4 separate regions of the Homo sapiens genome follow, and all the other regions are linked to region 2. The links are contacts of gene promoters, found by promoter capture Hi-C in human tissues and cell types (Jung and others, 2019). All regions are on one chromosome and are shown on one strand. The core of a region is centred on a gene start or on the middle of the fragment in contact, and the rest is flanking DNA. Distances in the headings are between cores, read along the strand shown.

Region 1 (3,083 bases), core at 400-2,899, 330 kb after region 2:
AACACATACACTCTTTCAGGCCTCTTTCTGCCTTTTGTTGCTGCCTGTCATGCTCTCACTCTTTCCTGTCCCCTACCCCTTCTAATTAGGCTAGCCTCACTCTTTAAGCCTCAGCTCGGGCAGGATCTCTAGAAAAGTCATCTCTGACATGCTTTCTTTTCACTCTTTAAATCCTAGTGCCTAGCACATAGCAAGACTCAATACATAATTGCTGAGTAAAATAGATAATGACTCTTTGTACAAAGATGATTTTCAAGATTGTTCCCTACAGTCAAGGAGCAGAGGGAATAGACATGTAAAGCAATAATTGACAATTCGGGTGGTGGAGATGCAGTAGAAAAATCAGTAAAGTTCTAGGGCAGCCCTAAGGAAGGAGATACCTAGATACCTGTTTACCTGGGGAAAGATGAGGATGAGGGTCAACTTCACCTAGCAGTCTGTTTTTTATTTTATGTATTTTATTTATTTATTTTTAGCAGTCTGTTTTAAAAGATGAAAATATTAATACATTTGTCAGAATAATACAGGGAACCATTTCGGATGTTAGGAAGAGGTTGTACACCAATAAAGGTGTCCACAGTCATTTTGGAAATCATTAATAAGGTACTATTATGAAATGGAGAACAGTATGCAGCATTGCCTGATAATATTGCTACTGCATTCCAAAATTTTGTTTTGTTTGTGATGGCTTTGTTCATTGATGTTGGGTGGATGAATCTGTGAGTGAATCTTCAACATGATTGTATTTCTTTAACCTGGTGGCATCTAGTGTCTCCCAGAAAGTGGTTTGTTGAAGTTTTGGAGAATTAGAATTATTTCTTAAAGAAGTAAGTATTCCACTAAAGATCAAGCTTCATTTAAACTCTCAATTTATGAAATAAAATGAAATGTAATTTAAAATCTATTTTTATAAAGACTATGTCTTTTATCTAACTGTTCTAAGTAGTTTAACTGAACGTTTGGATTTTGCAGCAGAACAAGACTTGGAGCTGACATCAGAGGAAGAGCAAGAAAGACTTAAAGGATGCGAAAATAAGCAGCCACAAGTGTGGAAACATTTAAACTAAAATCTAAATTTCTGGTTTAATACTCTTTTCTTTGCTTTAATATGCTAGCCCAAATGAAATTACCTCTCAGACTAGCCTTTGAGAATCAATAGATCCTTACTTAATATTTAATTTTAAATACATTTAAACTAGTTATAAAACACAATATTGTTAGAATCTATCATAACTTATAGTTAATCTTTACCCTTGGAGTAGAGGCAAACATTCCAGAATTTTGTTTGCTCTTCCATTCTTACAATATCCTTATGGGATAAAGAAGGTAATGTCAATTATTGACTTATATTATTAAGCAACAGAAATTATGAACAATTTAACAGTGATGGCCACTAAGTTGGATTCATGGTATAGGAGTAATCATGGCCAGTGGCTCAAATTTTGCAGTTTTATATTGCCAGTTACTAATGCCTAGGTTAAAGATGTGGCCTTTCATTGACTTCACGGTCTACATTCAGTGAGAGTGGGGTTATGAAATCAACCCAACTGCCTATTAAGGGAATCATACCTTGCAGAATGGGATCTTTGGTGTTAGGGTACAAACAATAACTTTCTAACTTTTTAGATGCAGAAACTTAGTAAGAATTATCTTTAAAGTTTTAGTTAGTGTTATTAGGGGACCGTAGTATATATTAGAACTGAACTGAAGAAGATAGTCTAGATATATAACCCTATGATGTTACAGTATATAATTTGAATTAAAACTTAAGAATTTGCTTTTGTTTCTGATTGGTGTTGATTCGGGCTCCTAATAATTTGAAGATTGCCTACCCTCCAGTTAGTAATCTATAGAACTTACATGTAGTAATATATAGTACTTACATGTAGTAATATGTAGTACTTACATGTACTGTAGGGGCTCACTTTTCAAGTGAGGAAGCCTTTGTAACACTAGAAATCATCTGCTAATTCATTTTTGGTAGATTTAACACATAATGAATTAAGTTTATTCCAAACAAACAGTGACAAAGTTAAGTTTGCTGGTTCATATTTTTCTCCTCCTTTCAGCTAAGACAATTTTTTTTAACTTCTTAGTTACAAGCCAGTGATTTGGGAGTAGCCAAACCTAGATGAAGAAGTTTAACAGTTAAATTTTCATTTTAATTATTTGTGAATTTTTCTTTGTTTATACCTGTTATTTAAGGACAAAGCTATTTTTAAAACATGTAGCCCAACAGAGAAGACACCCAAGAAACAAAACAAGCAAATTAATCTTCCACTTTTGCATCTGCAGAAAACGTCTCAAGAACCAGAAATGGCTAAGGATTGTGATAGAGAGGATATACCTATATATCCAGTACTTCCTCATGTGCAAAAATCTGAGGAAATGCGGATTGAACAAGGCAAATTAGAGTGGAAAAACCAATTAAAACTCGTCATAAATGAGTTAAAGCAGAGGTTTGGTGAAATTTATGAAAAATACAAAATTCCGGCTTGTCCTGAGGAAGAGCCACTACTTGATAACTCTACAAGAGGAACAGATGTGAAGGATATTCCCTTTAATTTGACAAATAACATACCTGGTTGTGAGGAAGAAGATGCATCTGAAATATCTGTCTCAGTGGTATTCGAGACATTTCCTGAACAAAAAGAACCCAGTCTCAAAAATATCATCCATTCATACTACCATCCGTACTCTGGGTCCCAGGAACATGTTTGCCAGTCATCTTCTAAGCTTCATTTACATGAAAATAAATTAGACTGCGACAATGATAACAAACCAGGCATTGGACATATTTTTAGTACAGATAAGAACTTTCATAATGATGCAAGCACTAAGAAAGCAAGGAACCCAGAAGTGGTTACGGTTGAAATGAAAGAAGACCAAGAGTTTGATTTGCAAATGACAAAAAATATGAACCAAAATAGTGACAGTGGCAGTACAAATAACTATAAAAGCCTGAAACCTAAATTAGAAAATCTGAGTTCTTTACCACCAGATTCTGACAGAACATCAGAAGTATATCTACATGAAGAATTACAGCAAGACATGCAAAAGTTTAAGAATGAGGTCAACACATT
Region 2 (3,062 bases), core at 165-2,664:
CAAAAAGAAAATTATTGCCCATCTCATTTTTGCATATCAATGCAAAGCCTGTAAATAAAATATTAGCAAACAGAATCAAGCAGTATATTTAAAAAAAAAAGACAAGTTTATTGCAGGGATAAACTGGGTTTTTATTAGGAATTTATTATAACTAGGACTCATTACTTCAATATGAGGAAATCAGCTGTCACCCGGTTTGCTCGTCCTTACAGACATCTCCCTCCTCTTCCTCTCTTCCTTTCCAGTGAAAATGTCTTCAAGTTTCCTCTACCAAACCAAAACTTCACCCCACTTCTTTTATTCTTTCCTCCTCTCTTCTCAGAACAAAGGGGTTGTTGCTGACCAGCCCAGGGTTTCTTATTTGGGGCCGGATCATTCTTCCTTGTGGGGCAGTCCTGTCCTTCAGGTAGGATGTTGAGGAGCACCCTCGTGTCTACCCACTTAGGCAACAGTAGCAACTCCCGCATCATGACAACCAAAAATGTCTCCAGACCTCCCCAAATGTACGCGGGGCGGCGAGGAGGGGCAACACCGGCCCTGGTCGAGAACCGCTAGCCTAGGCTCGCCCCTCTACCTGGGCGCCACAACTTGCCAGGGTTGGTTATTCTCCCTGGATCCTTTCCTTCCTCCTCATTTGAGCTTCACGCCCTCAAGTATGACCAAAGGTTCTGTCATTCCACTCCTGCAGTTTTCATTAAGGTCTTAGGCCACTTCCATGTCAAGAAACACAGTGGCTCTTTCTAACCCCTGGCCATGAGGCACCCCTGGAGGAGGAGCCGTGAGGGTAGGGAAGATGCTGAGGGGGATGTTGACCTTGCCGACTTCCAGGCGCCTCCGCTGCATCCCGGAGGAGGCGTTGGGCGGTGAGGGTGCAGCGGGGGGGCGGGCCCCGCAGGATGAGGTGTCCGTGTGCGGCTAGCGCCACAGGCAAGACCGGGCTCCTTGCGGGGCGGAGGTGAGGCCGTGAGCATAGCTCTCAAACTGGAGGGCGCCTCAGAATCACTTGACGGGCTTGCGAGAATGTGGACTGCTGGGCCCCACCTTCATGGTTTTAGTGCAGGAAAAACCGAATAGGCTGGGTGGGACGGAGAATCTGCATTTTCTCAAGTTCCCAGATGAGGCTGAAGCTGCTGGTCCGGGCACCACCCTTAGAAAACCTCCAGTGTAGAGTGCGGAAATGGGGTCCACATCTGGCTTGGGACGCCCAAACATCGATTATGTGCGACCAGAGGATGAGCAGATAGGGAGATGAGACACTGAGAGCTGGGAGAGAGGGGGCCCCCGGCCGCCGGCTGAAGGAGGACGGCGCAGGCGGCGGTCCGGGTACTACATCTCCCAGCGAGCCCCGCGCGGCTCGCGCTCGCCCCCTGGCGGCGATGGCTGGAGGCGCCGGCGGAGCGCGGGTCCCTCTCCTGAGCATCAGTGAGCGCCCGGAGCCGTGGCCGCTGGGGGTTGCGGCGGCGCTGAGCCAGCGGGGCCGGTGAGTACTAGCCGCGCCGCCAGCCCGCCCGCCGGCCGGCTCTTTGCGCCTCAGCCGCGTGGTCTGAAGGGATGGGCGGGCGAGCGCGGGGGTCCGGCAGTCCGTCGTGGGGGCACGGGACTGCCTTTCTGGGAAGGCGTGCTGCGTCTTCGCCGCGGGGGCCCCGGTCCCCTCGTCGCGTGTCCTGTCCCCAGCCCAGGAGGGACGTCCTGGCCTGTCCTGCCCGGCCCGGAGCGGTGGGACCGGTGCCGCAGGTGGCAGCGGCAGGTGGCCGCCTCCTCCCCTCCGGGCCCGAGGGTTGTCGCAGGGACCCGGGACTGAGAGCCAGGTGGCTCCCGACAGCTGCGGCCCTGGAGGCGACCCCAGCCCTCGCCGCAGTGGGACAGGTGCGCGGGCACGCCCGGCCCCGGCTCCTGGGTCTCGGGAGCCTCCCGCACCCTCCCTGTTGTGCCTTGGGGGTGCTGCGTGGTGCAGAGGACCGAGAAGCCCTTCGCCCTCGGCGTCCGCCGCGCTCCCGCCCCTTCCTGGCCGGGGTGACAGGGGAAGGGCTAGGGCTGCGCATCCCGGGTCAGCTGGGGCGCCGCGGCGCAGTGCACCTGGAAGGCCCGGGGGCAGCGCGCGGTGCCCGTGGGTTTCCCGGTGGTGCGGACCTGCGGGCGTGCGGAAGTAACGACCTCCTTCCCCAGTGCCCATGCAAGGAAATTAGTGTTATGTGCTTGCTTTTTTTTTTTTTTTTTCCTAAGGAAGTTTGACTCTGAATATCTTATTTTGCTGGAGCTCCATTTGCCAGCACGTAAGTTTATGTAATAAGCGGCATACAGTTCGGAAAAAAATTTTCCTGTGAAAGTGCTCTTCCTTGCCCTCTGCAGGAAGAATTACGCCGAGCTGGTTGGCAGGCTTATCCACCAGCAACTGTAGGAGCTGCAGGCAGCAGATAAAGTGTTTTTTGAGTAAGGGCACAAGTCAGCCCTTCAGGACAATTTTTGTTTTTGGAAGATTCTGTTATCCAGTTCCAAACACCGTGTTATTTCAGTGTTGAAGATGGGGGAGGAGGGAGGAGCACAGGCTTGTCAATCCTAATACCTCAACAGAAATTAGCTTTGCAGGATTAACTCTCCAAGCAAGCGAGTTGAATTTGGTAGCCCAAACTACAGCTGAAGCTGAGCCTCCATACTAAAGCCTGTCTCAGTTTTAATAGTTTTTCGCTTGATTCGTTTGCCTCTTCCAAGTAGGTGATCTTATTGTCTGTTAAACAACAGATGTCTCTCATGTTTTTACTTTTTTCCTTGTCTTCCATAGATTACTCTCGCTGCAGTGTTGACTATTGAGGTTAAATAGGAATCTTTGTCTTGGGCTTGGTTTTAGGGAGCATTCCCTCTGTATCTTCACCGAGTGTATTCTATCACATTAAGTACATTTCTGTTTATGCCTAATTACTAAGAGTTTAAAAAGTCAAGGGTGGGTGTTGGGTTTTTTGCCCAAATGCTTTTGTGTAGCATGCATTGATATGATCATGTAGATTTTCGTCTTAAAATTGTTAACATAAGTGGTGGTCACATTGCTAGATTTTCTTTCTCTAAAA
Region 3 (3,110 bases), core at 516-3,015, 490 kb before region 2:
TCAGAGGCCTGACACCTACGTCAGGTGATCTGCCACCTCGGCCTCCCAAAGTGCTGGGATTACAGGCTGAGCCACCATGCTTGGCCCTTATTTATTTATTTATTGAGACAGGGTCTCACTCTGTTGCCCAGGCTGGATTGCAGTGGCACAATCATGGCTTGTTGCTGCCTTGACCTCCCGAGCTCAAGCAATCCTCCTACCTCAGCCTCCTGAGTAGCTGGGACTAGAGGCTCATGACACCATGCCTGGCTAATTCTTAAATTTTTTTGTAGAGATGAGGTCTTACTATGTTGCCCAGGCTGGTCTCCAACTCCAGGGCTCAGCCTCCCATCCCATGATGCTGCCTGTTTCTTGAGTCCAGGGGTCATGTTTGATGGGGAACAGAATGACTTCAGCTAAGTCATCTCTGTCAAGACCTGGAGTATTTTATTTTAACCTCCAAAATCCAACACTAGTCCCATTCTGACCTGCACTCAAGAGCAGTGCTGAGTCAACTGAGCTCCTGGCCAGTCTGGGGGCTTGAGCTCCATCCTGGTTGAGCACGACCAAGCCCTTAGAGTTATCAGACACCCTTGGCTATCTCTGGTCTGCACATCCTGAGCCCAGATTGCAGCAGCAATTGGCCTAGGCATTAACCTTGGGCACTGCCTGGAGATTGTTGGGCTGAGTCATAAAAGATGTTGTGGGGGAAATAAAGAGAAATCAGACTGTTATTGTATCTATTAGAAAAAGGAAGACATAAGAAACTCTATTTTGATCTGTACTAAGAAAAATTCTTCTGCTTTGAGATGCTGTTAATCTGTAGACCTAGCCCCAGCCCTGTGCTGGCAGATAACATGTGCTGTATTGACTCAAGGTTTAAGGGATTTAGGGCTGTGCAGGATGTGCTTTGGTAAAAATGTGTTTGCAGGCAGTATGCTTGGTAAAAGTCATCACCATTCTCCAGTCTCGAGTACACAGTGCACTGCGGAAGGCCGCAGGGACCTCTGCCCAAGAAACCCTGGGTGTTGTCCAGGTTTCCCCCCACTGAGACAGCCTGAGATATGGCCTCGTGGGAAGGGAAAGACCTGACCGTCCCCCAGCCCGACACCCGTAAAGGGTCTGTGCTGAGGAGGATTAGTGAAAGAGGAAGGCCTCTATGCGGTTGAGATAAGAGGAAGGCCTCTATGCGGTTGAGATAAGAGGAAGGCATCTGTCTACTGCTCGTCCCTGGGAATGGAACGTCTTGGTGTAAAACCTGATCGTACATTCTATTTACTGAGATAGGAGAAAACTGCCTTACGGCTGGAGGTGAGACATGCTGGCGGCAATACTGTTCTTTACTGCACTGAGATGTGTAAAGTCAAACATAAATCTGGCGTATGTGCACATCCAGGCACAGCACCTTTCCTTAAACTTATTTTTGACACAGAGTCCTTTGCTCACATGTTTTCCTGCTGACCCTCTCCCCACAATTACCCTATAGTCTTGCCACATCCCCCTCGCCGAGATGGTAGAGATAGTGATCAATAAATACTGAGGGAATTCAAAAACCAGTACTGGTGCAGGTCCTCACTTGCTGAGCGCTGGTCCCCTGGGCCCACTTTTCTTCCTCTATATTTTGTCTCTGTGTCTTATTTCTTTTCCCACTCTCTTGTCTCCACCTTGCGAGAAGTACCCAGGGGTGTGGAGGGGCAGGCCCCCTTAAAATGTGGCCACATGTTTTGAACAAAAAGTCATAAAAAAGATGTGGCCACATGTTTTGCCCATTTGGGCTTAAAATCTCAGGGTCTTACATCTGCATATGACTAGGTGTGAGCTGGGTGGGGCGGAGGGGCGTCCTCTGTCGGGGTGTACATGGGGGCACCTTGTAGGGCAGTGCTTCAAGCCCAGAGATGTATCAAGAGATTTCTTTGACATCTTGGACAAGGATATGGACTTCTGCTGAGCATACATGTCAGACGCTCACTCTTGGTTGCCTGCTTTACACCCATTCTGCTCCTATTCTGTGCTCACAGAACCACAATGATTTTTCTTTTCAAAGAACCAGCTTTTGGTTTTGTTGGTTTTTCTCTATTGATTTCCTATTTCCAATTCTATTGGCTTCTGCTCTAATTTCTTTTTTTCTTTTCTTTTGTTTGCTTTGGATTTAATTTGCTCTTCTTTTTCTTGTTTCCTATGGTAGAAGCTTAGATGATTGATTTTAGATCTTTCTCTTTTCTCATAGATGCAGTCAATGCTAGAAATATCCCCCTAAGCACTATTTTTTAATTCTGCATCCCACAAATTCTGATAGTTTGTATTTTCATTTTCATAAGATTTAAATTCATGACCAACATGTTTTAAAACTTTTCTTGGGATTTCTTCTTTGGCCCATGTGTTACTCAAAAGCGTGTTGTTGGCCGGCGCAGTGGCTCACACCTGTAATCCCAGCACTTTGGGAGGCTGAGGCGGGTGGATTTCCTGAGGTCAGGAGTTCAAGACCAGTCTGACCAACACGGTGAAACCCCGTTTCTACTAAATACAAAAACTTAGCTGAGTATGGTGACGCATTCCTGTAATCCCAGCTACTTGAGAGGCTGAGGCAGGAGAATCGCTTGAAACCGGAAGGCGAAGGTTGCAGTGAGCCGAGATTGCGCCATTGCACTCCACCCTGGGCAACAAGAGTGAAACTGTCTCAAAAAAGAAATGTGTTGTTTAATCTCCAGATATTTTGGGCTTTTTCCAGCTAGCTTTCTGTTATTGATTTCTAGTTTAATTTTATTGTGTCCTGACAACATACTTTGTGTGGTTTCTTTTTCTTTTTCTTTTCTTTCTTTTATTTATTTTTTTTGAGACATAGTTTCGCTGGAGTACAATGGCGCGACCTTGGCTTGCTGCAACCTCTGCCTCCCTGGTTCAAGCGATTCTCCTGCCTCAGCCTCCTGAGTAGCTGGGATTATAGGCATGCACCACCACACCCGGCTAAATTTTGTATTTTTAGTAGAGACAGGGTTTCTCCGTGTTGGTCAGGCTGGTCTCGAACTCCCAATCTCAGGTGATCCATCCACTTGGGCCTCCCAAAGTGCTGGGATTACAGGCATGAGCCATCGTGCCCGGCCCAAAATGTTCTTCTGAAGCCCTGTGCACTT
Region 4 (2,933 bases), core at 302-2,801, 260 kb after region 2:
TGGACATGATTTTTGTTCTTTTTTATGGCTGTGTATTTCCATGGTGTATATTTACCACATTTTCTTTATCCAACCCACTGTTGGTGGGTACTTAGGTTGATTTTATGTTTTTTCTACTGTGAACAGTGCTGCAATGAACATACGAGTGGTAGAACGACTTATTTTTCTTTGGGTATATACCTAGTCATGGGATTGCTGGGTCAAATGTTCTATTTTTAGTACCTTGAGAAATCTCCAAACTGCTTTCCACAGGGGCTGAACTAATTTTATTCCCACCAGCAGTGTATAAGCATTTCTTTTTCTCCATGGCCTCGCTAGCGTCTGCTATTTTTTGGCTTTTTAATAATAGCCTCCTGGCTAGTGTTAGATGGTATCTCATTGTGGTTTTGATTCGTATTTCTTTGAAGATTAGGGATGTTGAGCGTGTTTTCATGTTTATTGAATGTATATATGTCTTCTTTTGAGAGGTGACTGTTCATTTCCTTTGCCTATTTTTTAATGGGGTTATTTGGTTTTTGCTTGTGGATTTAAGTTCTTATAGATTCTGGATATTAGATGCATAGTTTGTGAATATTTCTTCCCATTCTATGGGTTGTCTGTTAACTCTGTTGATAGCTTCTTTTGCTGTGAAGGAACTCTTTAGTTTAGTTAGATTCCACTTGTCAATTTTTTATTTTGCTGCACTTGCTTTTGGGGACTTAGCCAAAAATTCTTTGCTAAGGCCAATGTTGAAAAAGTTATTTCCTAGGTTTTCTTCTAGGATTTTTATAGTTCGAAGTCTTATATTTAAATCTGTAATCCATTTTAAGTTAATTTTTATATGTAGTGACAGGTAGAGGTCTAGTTTCTATCTTCTGCGTATGGTCAGCCAGTCATCCCAGCAGCATTTGCTGAATAGGGAATTCTCTTCCCATTGCTTGTTTTTGTCAAAGATCAGATGATTATAGGTTTGCAGCTCTATTTCTGGATACTCTAACTTGTGTATGTGTCTGTTTTTATACCAGTGCCATGCTGTTTTGGTTACTGTAGCCTTAGAATATAACATGAACTCAGGCAATGCGAGTCTCCAGCTTTGATCTTCTTACTTAAGATTGCTTTGGCTATTCAGACTCTGTTTTGGTTCCATATGAATTTTAGAATAGTTTTTTCTAATTCTTTGAAAAATGACATTTGTAGTTTGATAGGAATACCATTGAATCTGTAAAGTGCTTTGGGCAGTATAGCCATTTGAATGATACTGATTTTTCCAATCCATGAGCATGGAATGTTTCTCCATTTATTTGTGTCATAGCTGGTTTCTTTCAGCCTCCTTCCATATATTGTTCAGCTCCAGGTAATATTGTAGGTGCTGGGGGCCGGGCGCGGTGACTCACGCCTGTAATCCCAGCACTTTGGGAGGCTGAGGCGGGTGGATCACAAGGTCGGGAGATCGACACCATCCTGGCTAACATGGTGAAACCCCGTCTCTACTAAAAAATACAAAAAATTAGCCGGGCGTGGTGGCACGCACCTGTGGTCCCAGCTGCTCGGGAGGCTGAGGTAGGGGAATGGCGTGAACCCGGGAGGCGGAGCTTGCGGTGAGCCGAGATAGCGCCACTGCACTCCAGCCTGGGCGACAGAGCAAGACTCCGTCTCAAAAAATATATATATATATTGTAGGTCCTGGGGATTCCACAGTGAATGAAACAGGCAACAGTCCCTGCTCTCATGGAACTTAAATCCTCATGGGGTCTGGCAGTTAACTGAAATAAAAGGTAACATATGTACGGTATTTGAAGGTTGTATTGCCGTGGAGAGAAATAAAGCAGGGAAGGAGGGTTGGGAATGTTGGGTGAATGGTACAATTTATACATAGTGGTCAGGGAGATGACATTTGAGCACTTGCTCCCCTCTCTTGAAGGGCTTTGGTGTCTGCATGAAGCTTTATTTCCCACCAAGGCCTAGGTGTGGAGGGTCAGAGTAAGGAGGTCATTACTGTCGTTACTGTGCCAATAGAAGCTGAAGTGACACACGGTGGTCGACCCAGGTCAGCAGCACTGGGAAGTGAGCATCGCAGCCAGACCCACCTGCCGAGCTCCGGGCCAACTGCCTGACATCTCGAGTGGCCCAGGATTGAGACCCAGTGAAAGGATGTGAGTTTGCCCTCACTACGAAGTGAGGCCCAGTTCACTAAGCTCAAAATGGCGCTCCTAGGAGGCCCTTCCTCACATTCTGCTCAACTCATACACACTGGTGTCTTTTTGGAATAAGTCACTCCTGGAAAGGCCCTCTAAATTACTCTCAGTCCTCAAATTTCATACTCCTGATGTGTGTTGGCTGTTTTCCAAGCCAAGGGCAGGCCTGACTCAGATAACTCCTACCCCTCCCTTTCTTTCATCTGAAAGTCTAGTTTAAGCTCCTAGTTTTCTGTTACGATGGAGAGATTTCCATTTGTAATTTCCAGTAAGAATTCTGAAGGGACAGAAAGTCGGGAGGGTAGGTGTGACAGGAAGAATTCTGAAGATAACCCCCATGACTCTCCATGGTAGAATGTCCTCCTCTTTATATGACACAGGGAGATGGTCTGGATATGCCCACTAATCACAAACCCCTGTAGAAGCCAAGTGATGTCTCTGGCTTGTGGCAGAAGTTGGGGAAATTCAAAGCATGAGAAGGACTCTGATTGTTCTTGGTGGTTTGAAGAGGGAGGGGGCACGTGAGAAGGAGCCAAGAAGGGCCCCCTGGCTGGCAGCCAGCAGGAAACAGGGACTTTCTAGCACTAAAGCATTAGTGCTGAGGTCCTGGCCGTGCCCAGAAATTGCCATGTGGGTGCTCTGGAGTTTTGAGGTTGACAACTGCAAGTTGTGTGTAGTGCCACCGGGTCCTTTGTCTCCTCCTCTGTCCTGATGCCCTCAGACCTCAGCCAGGCCAGGGACGCTCAGTTTGCTTTGCCT

What was found. Contacts are between HindIII fragments. The study calls those that stand out against the background at their distance.
Region 1: a contact is called between a fragment that was not itself captured here and the fragment with the promoter of SPECC1 in region 2, in 1 of the 25 tissues and cell types used here (dorsolateral prefrontal cortex).
Region 3: a contact is called between a fragment that was not itself captured here and the fragment with the promoter of SPECC1 in region 2, in 1 of the 25 tissues and cell types used here (hippocampus).
Region 4: a fragment that was not itself captured here is called in contact with the fragment with the promoter of SPECC1 in region 2 in 1 of the 25 tissues and cell types used here (hippocampus).

What each region holds. Positions count from the first base shown.
Region 1 is chr17:20,337,185-20,340,267 of GRCh38, forward strand. It overlaps the pseudogene CCDC144CP. Among named protein-coding and RNA genes, the nearest start is that of FAM106B, 78 kb to the right of the region's middle. The HindIII fragment of the contact is 4,138 bases long and covers 1-3,083 here.
Region 2 is chr17:20,007,945-20,011,006 of GRCh38, forward strand. SPECC1 (sperm antigen with calponin homology and coiled-coil domains 1) reads left to right here and starts at 1,415. Exons shown (of 15, transcript NM_001243439.2): 1 at 1,415-1,480. SPECC1-DT (SPECC1 divergent transcript) reads right to left here and starts at 1,316. Exons shown (of 1, transcript NR_186461.1): 1 at 111-1,316. RefSeq lists an enhancer at 217-784 and silencers at 1,217-1,886, 1,907-2,086. The HindIII fragment of the contact is 29,689 bases long and covers 1-3,062 here.
Region 3 is chr17:19,519,030-19,522,139 of GRCh38, forward strand. No RefSeq gene overlaps it. Among named protein-coding and RNA genes, the nearest start is that of TRW-CCA2-1, 12 kb to the left of the region's middle. RefSeq lists an enhancer at 1-516. The HindIII fragment of the contact is 5,850 bases long and covers 1-3,110 here.
Region 4 is chr17:20,264,949-20,267,881 of GRCh38, forward strand. All of the region lies in intron 12 of SPECC1 (sperm antigen with calponin homology and coiled-coil domains 1), which reads left to right. Among named protein-coding and RNA genes, the nearest start is that of FAM106B, 150 kb to the right of the region's middle. The HindIII fragment of the contact is 8,883 bases long and covers 1-2,933 here.